Linked DNA regions of Homo sapiens: region 2 is linked to region 1. Evidence: promoter capture Hi-C in human tissues and cell types (Jung and others, 2019). All regions are on one chromosome and are shown on one strand. Each heading gives the region's core, a stretch centred on a gene start or on the middle of the fragment in contact. The rest is flanking DNA. Distances are from core to core; before and after follow the strand shown. Region 1 holds the start of WNT8A (Wnt family member 8A). Region 2 overlaps PKD2L2 (polycystin 2 like 2, transient receptor potential cation channel).

What was found. The method cuts DNA at HindIII sites, captures the fragments that hold promoters and counts their contacts. A contact is called where the count stands out against the background at its distance.
Region 2: a contact is called between a fragment that was not itself captured here and the fragment with the promoter of WNT8A in region 1, in 3 of the 25 tissues and cell types used here (aorta, bladder and hippocampus).

Annotation. Positions count from the first base shown.
Region 1 is chr5:138,082,135-138,085,693 of GRCh38, reverse strand. It overlaps WNT8A (Wnt family member 8A), which reads right to left and starts at 1,661. Exons shown (of 5, transcript NM_001300939.2): 1 at 1,411-1,661; 2 at 1,058-1,196. The coding sequence starts at 1,566. The HindIII fragment of the contact is 19,757 bases long and covers 1-3,559 here.
Region 2 is chr5:137,889,481-137,893,038 of GRCh38, reverse strand. It overlaps PKD2L2 (polycystin 2 like 2, transient receptor potential cation channel), which reads right to left. Exons shown (of 15, transcript NM_001300921.2): 1 at 3,517-3,558; 2 at 2,457-2,558; 3 at 426-559. The coding sequence starts at 3,547. Among named protein-coding and RNA genes, the nearest start is that of PKD2L2, 1.8 kb to the right of the region's middle. The HindIII fragment of the contact is 6,072 bases long and covers 1-3,558 here.

The DNA of each region.
Region 1 (3,559 bases), core at 412-2,911:
TATTTTTAGTAGAGACGAGGTCTTGCTATGTTGCCCAGGCTGGTCTCGAACTCCTGAACTCAAGCGATCCTCCTGCCTTAGCCTTCCAAAGTGCTGGGATTATAGGCATGGTTCCAACACGTGCTTAGCCACTTTCTCCGTCTTCTTTACTCTCGTTCCCCTAACTATTCTCAGGTGAATGTTATCTTCAAAAATGACATGCAAACTACGGCACACAGTTACAAATGGGTGCACGTGCACACCCATACACACACATAGACACACACCCCACCTGAGGCACAACTCAATGTGACGTCTCAGCTTTTCTGTTGAGATTTTATGGCAGTTAGCCATGTGAAACTTCCTCAGGAGCTGCAAACACACAGCCCTTTCCCCATTTTTATTTCATGCAACTCAGTGCAAGATCAGTGTGTACAAACGCACAAATATAGGCATGCATTTAAAAAATAGAGTAATTTCCGCTGGGCACGGTGGCTTACGCCTGTAATCCCAGCACTTTTGGAGGCTGAGGTGGGTGGATCACCTGAGGTCAGGAGTTTGAGACCAGCCTGGCCAACATGGTGAAACCCCATCTCTACTAAAAATACAAAAAATTAGCCAGGCATGTTGCATGCCTGTAATCCCAGCTACTCGGGAGGCTGAGGCAGGAGAATCACTTGAACTCCGGAGGCGGAAGTTGCGGTAAGCCGAGATTGCGCCATTGCACTCCAGCCTGGGCAACAGAGTGAGACTCCGTCTCAAAAAAAGAAAAAAAAAAAAGAGTAATTTCCTACATTTATCTCATACATAGAGACACCTCATACCCACCTCATTCAACCCATAGGATACTTCTGATGAACTAAACAGAACTGGCCTTACTGACCCAAATGACAAATCTGGGGCTGAGAGAGGGTAGGTAATTTACTCAAGGCCACACAGCAAGGAAATGGCAGGTCAGCAGGTCACTGGCAGCATTTTTATTTCACTGTGCAATACATGTCACACATATACACATACTGCAAGCCCCACTCCATTCACATATATACCCCTTGTACAGGTGAGTCCCACACAAACTTACCACTTCTCAGCCTGTTGTGGGTGGAGAGCTGAAGAGCATTTTCAGGGCAGTTCCAGCGTTCCCAAGCAAACTGGAACTTGCACTCCTCGATGCCACTCTGGGCACCCAAGGCCACACTAGTCGTGTAGGTCAGATAGGCCTGGCAAAGGGAAAAGGGCTGTGAGCTTCTGCCCGGTATGGGTCATCTGTGGTTGGGGGAGCAGGCAGGACTCAGATGGGCCAGCTCTCCATTAAGAATCAACCATGGGTTCCTCTGGGTGAGGGGCTCTGGCACTGTCCCCGCCCCTCTTTTCTCCAGAAGAGTCCCCTTAGGGCCCTCAGTGGGTAAAAACAGAAGCTGGAGATCATCCTACCTTGGGACCTGTTATCAGGAAATTGTTCACTGACCTACCAAAAAGAGAAAAAGTGAGGCAGAGGTGAATGGGGATGAGACAATGGGGGCCTCCTTGGCAAGGAGTGAGGGTTGGGAAAGGACTTACCAGGCAGAGGCACTGAATGCAGCACAGCATATGCCCAGAGCTGCCCAGAGCATAAACAGGTTCCCCATCGCCCTGCCTACCCCAGTGGACCAGGTCCAGCTCAGGGCCAAGTCCAGAGAAGTGAGGAGAGGGCAGGGTCTTCCTCAGTATTTATGTGAGAAAATTCTGAATGTCCAAGGGAGGAAATCAGCAGCTCTTCTCATTTGTTCCTAACTGGCAGGGCTGCAGGAGCCACCGGCCCAGTGGGGGATCTGGGAGGAGGGACTCAGTTTTCGCCAAAAGCCCCGCCCTGCCCAGCCCCTCCAGCCCTTCTTCCCTCCCAGAATGAGAAGGAGGCTGCTTTTCTCCTATACGTGAGATTTCTTTCTTCTATATGTCAATTTTGTCTCTTCCTGCTTCTTTGGCCCATTTCTCAGAATCATGTAGGCCAGAGCAGGCTGGGTCCTTAACCCTGAAGGCAGGTCACCTATTCTTGGAGCTACAGTGTCCTCATCTGTCAGTGAGAGCCCACTCTCTGTCCTGCCATCCTCCCCAAGGTGTTAATAATCATAAAGCAACTCCATCTGGGGCTGCTTCCTACTCATTTACCTAAACCAGTGAGTGCGCCATCCCTACCACTTCCTTCAAGGCTGTGAGGTGATGGAGCTGTGGGACTATGGAGCAGGAACACTTCAGAGTCCATCTCTGCAACAGTCCCTTCCACCACATTCTAGCAACTGCTGGGAAATTTCCTTAATTCCTAGCAAATCTATCCTTTTATATCTGAGGGTTACAACTCCAGTTAGTTGATTTTTTATATATCTGAGAACCAACCTTAGGGCCACCCAGGGTTATATTTGGGAAGACTGATGCCTTTCTCTTTTTTTTTTTTTTTTGAGACAGAGTCTCTCGCTCTGTCGCCCAGGCTGGAGTGCAGTGGTGCAATCTCAGCTCACTACAACCTCTGCCTCCTGGGTTCAAGTGATTCTCCTACCTCAGCCTCCCAAGTATCTGAGACTACAGGTGCCAGCCACCACACCCAGCTAAATTTTGTATTTTTAGTAGAGAAGGGGTTTCGCCAGTTGGCCAGCCTGGTCTTGAACTCCTGGGCTCAAGTGATCTGCCCACCTTGGCCTCCCAAAATGCTGGGATTATAGGCATGAGCCACTGGGCGTGGCCCTGATGCCTTTCTTTCTGATACTACTTTGTTACTAGGACTTCAGCTCCTTAGGTGGGAATCTGTCTTTTATTTTATTTTATTTATTTATTTATTTATTTATTTATTTATTTATTTATTTATTTTGAGATGGAGTCTCACTCTGTCGCCAGGCTGGAGTGCAGTGGCATGATCTCGGCTCACTGCAACCTCCACTTCCTGGGATCGAGCAATTCTCCTGCCTCAGCCTCCGGAGTAGCTGGGATTACAGGTGTGCGCCACCATGCCCAGCTAATTTTTGTATTTTTAGTAGAGACGGGTTTCACCATGTTGGCCGGGATGGTCTCGATCTCTTAATCTCGTGATCCACCTGCCTCGGCCTCCCAAAGTGCTGGGATTACAGGCGTGAGCCACCATACCCAGCCTTATTTTATTTTATTTTTTGAGGCAGAGTTTCACTCTTGTCACCCGGGCTGGAGTGCAAGTGTGCCATCTCAACTTACTGCAACCTCCACCTCTGTGTTCAAGTGATTCTCCTGCCTCAGCCTCCCCAGTAGCTGAGATTACAGGCATGTGCCACCATGTCCAGCTAATTTTGTACTTTTAGTAGAGACAGGGTTTCCCTATGTTGGCCAGGCTGGTCTCAAACTCCTGACATCAGGTGATCCACACGCCTTTGGCCTCCTGAAGTGCTGGGATTACAGGCATGAGCCACCGCACCCAGCCAGGAATGTCTTTTAGGTTCACTTTCGGTTCTTAGAGCTTAAGAAGGCACCTGGATGAACAAACGAAAGACCCTGTGACCCCTAGTGGGCACCATTAGGTATGCTTGGGGACTAGAACAAAAGGTGGGAAAGTCCTTCTTGGTTGCTGAAGCTCTTTCCTAAG
Region 2 (3,558 bases), core at 104-2,603, 190 kb after region 1:
GGAGTGCAATGGCATGATCTTGGCTCACTGTAACCTCCACCTCCCGGGATTACAGGTGGCTGTCACCATGCCTGGCTAATGTTTGTATTTTTTAGTAGAGACGAGGTTTCACCAAGTTGGTCAGGCTGGTCTTGAACTCCTGACCTCAGGTGATCCACCCGCCTTGGCCTCCCAAAGTACTGGGATTACAGGCATGAGCCACCGTGCCTGGCCAAAAAAATTTTTTAAAAAATTACAAGAATAGTATCAAACTGAGAACACAGGCTCTCAAAAACACTTACTGGTTGGTTGTTTCTAATAGTTTAAAGAAATGACATTTATTTTTATTCATTTCTTCAAAAGATATTCATTGAGTGCCCACTGTGTATGCCAAGGGTTCATGGACTACCTAAATCTACTTCATCCACAGTCACAAGATACTTTACCTTCCAAAAATCAGTTATGCTGCGAATGGACTTAAAGTTGGTTCTTTCTTCACCAGGCACAGAAGTGTCCAAAAATAGAGATGACATAACCTTGTTTAAGTAATACATATGTGGGTTTACCATCCCAAAAGTCACTAAGGAGAATAATTTTTTGTTTAATAATTTACATTTAAAAACTCAGCTTATCAGGATTAAAAATGTTACATTTTTTTCTCAATTTTGAAAATTAAACTTTATTAATCTAATTATAAAAGTAATAATTTAAAAAATCTAAACTAGAAATATAAAAAGTAGGATGTGGTTTCTAGAATTAGTCTGGCAAATATTCTTCAGACATTTCTTTATGCATACACATTTATAAAGAAAATAATTTTATCTTTACAAAAATGAGGACACATTATACACACTATTCTGCAAGTTGACTTTTTCTCTACATGAGAGTAAGGCAATATAGTATGGTGAGTGGTTAAGGTTACATGGACTTTGAATTCAGACAGATAAGGGTGTGAGTCCCATCACAGGGATAGTATCTCTTACCCCCTAGTTTTGTTGTGAGAAGTGAGATGATGCACACAGAACATTTTAAACTGTGTTTTGGCACATGATGAGTTTTTAAAAATATTAACTAGTGGCGGGGCGTGGTGTTGCACCCATAATCCCAGAACTTTGGGAGGCTGAGGTGGGTGGATCACCTGAGATCAGGAGTTCGAGACCAGACTGACCAACATGGTGAAAACCCTGTCTCTACTAAAAACATACAAAATTAGCCGGGCGTGGTGGCACAGGCCTGTAATCCCAGCTACTCCGGAGGCTGAGGCAGGAGAATCGCTTGAACTCAGGAGGTGGAGGTTGCAGTGAGCCACTGTACTCCAGCCTGGGTGACAGAGCGAGACTGTCTCAAAAAAGAAAAAAAAAAGAAAAAAAATCACATTATAAATGGAGATTCAGGTTGCTGTATTATATTAAAAAAAGTGTTCTTTAAAAATCTCTGAATAATGGGATTATAAATGATCTTTTTACTTACATTTTTACATTTTCCAAATGTTCTGTAGTAAGCATGTAGTTTTCATAACCAAGCTTTTATAAAGCAGTCTAAGATATCTTAATTTATAAAGTTGCCTACAGTTATCTTTTTTTTTTTTTTCCTTGGGACAGGGTCTCAGCCTGTCACCCAGGCTGAAGTGCAGTCGTTGCAATCACAGTTCACTGCAGCCTCGACCTCCTGTGCTCAAGCAATCCTCCACCTCAGCCTTCTCAGTAGCTAGGACTACAGGGGTGTGCCACCACACCTGGCTAATTTTATAGTTGTCTTTTCAATCAAGAGCAGACTCAAACTCACCCCTACAACACCAATTAATTACTTAATTGCTATACAATTGCCAGTGTGTAGCACATACCAACATGAGACAATACTGCCAGTGAGCTTTCATCTACTGTTATGTTGGGTGCCATCGACAAATGCTCTTTAATACTCCTCTTTGCATATTAAGCCAATGCTATTGACCCACAGGTAGGAGGAATGCAGGTTGAGATGTTTTCCCAGTCCTCCTTAATTATTTGCATTGACTCAGCACAAACTATTTTTTTAACTGCAATAGGTCAGTGAAAAGAACCAAGCTAATGGCAGACACCAAGATGAACTTTGGCCTCATTTGTACTTTGATTTATGAAACTCAGCTGATGTGTCTATATGACTCTAAACAAAATCAAATTGCAGTTGCCAACCCAAGGGATGAATTATGCTCAAGACAGAACTGCCAAATGAAAGGAATAATTCTAATTCAGTCAGTATTGACTATGGAAGCTTCTTACATTTGCGATGTAAAATTTTGCCCCTTAAGAACTGAAAATAGTCAATTTCTAAATGAAATGAATCTAAATGAATTTAAGATTATGTTTAAACGTGTCACTGTATTTTGAGTTTTAGTAGCCTGACAGCCTGTGGTTTTGAAGTTTGTATGTTTTATTTTTCATCTCCACATTTTAACTTCTTAGTTCAAACAAACAGCATCTTTATATCTGTGTACTTACATATACATAGGTTTATTAAAAAAATAAAGTAGAGTAACAATTCCTGAAGTGTGGTTGTAATTTCTACTTCCTTTCTGTAATGCAACTTATGTTTCGAAGCCCCTGTGAGATATAAGACAAAATTTTTCTTTACATTATTATGTAATTTATAAGTGACAACAATGGAAAAACCACAGCCACTTTTAGTCCTTACACTGCGGGGAGGAAAGCTCCAATAGCTTCTGGCTATTTTTCAATTCTTAGTTTTACGAGGCAGGGATAATTTTTTTACTATATACTATTAATAACAGATTTTTTTTTTGAGACGGAGTCTAGCTCTGTCGCCAGGCTGGAGTTCAGTGACGCGATCTCGTCTCACTGCAGCCTCCGCCTCCCCGGTTCAAGCGATTCTCCTGCCTCAGCCTCCCGAGTAGCTGGGACTACAGGCGCGCGCCACCACACCCAGCTAATTTTCGTATTTTTAGTAGAGATGGGGTTTCACCATGTTGGCCAGGATGGTCTCGATCTCTTGACCTTGTGATCCGCCCGCCTCGGCCTCCCAAAGTGTTGGGATTACAGGCTTGAGCCACTGCGCCCGGCCACTAACAGATTTTATATCATGATGTCTTCTCGCCAGTCTTAAGATGAAAAAGCAAAATACGAAACAAGTAAAACCTCTCATCTGTCCTAACCGTTTTCTCCACCCTCAATACAGCTTCTTGGGAAGGCTGGTTTCTGCTGGACAGGGGAAAAACACCTCGGCTTGAATTCTGTCAAGGTCACGACTCCCCAGATCAACCAAGGACTTTAGAGACCGGCCTAGCGACGGTCACTCGACAGGTGACAACGCCCAGCTCGAGCCTCCGGCAAGAGGCGAGCGCCACCTCGCTCAGGGCTTCAGTTTTCCCGTCTGTGCAATGGGACCATCTGTCCCTCTCCGCTTCCCCAGGGGAGGCTGTGAGGGCTAAAGGTGTCGGCAGTCACATCTCTCAAACGAATTTGGGGCCGCAGAGTTCCTTTCAGGGTGTCTGGAACTGCCAAATCGCCCCTGTCCCTCCCACTCCTTAAGAGGACCCCTCACCGCCTCGGTGCCACCGTGACGCCTCAGCCATGGCGGACCTGC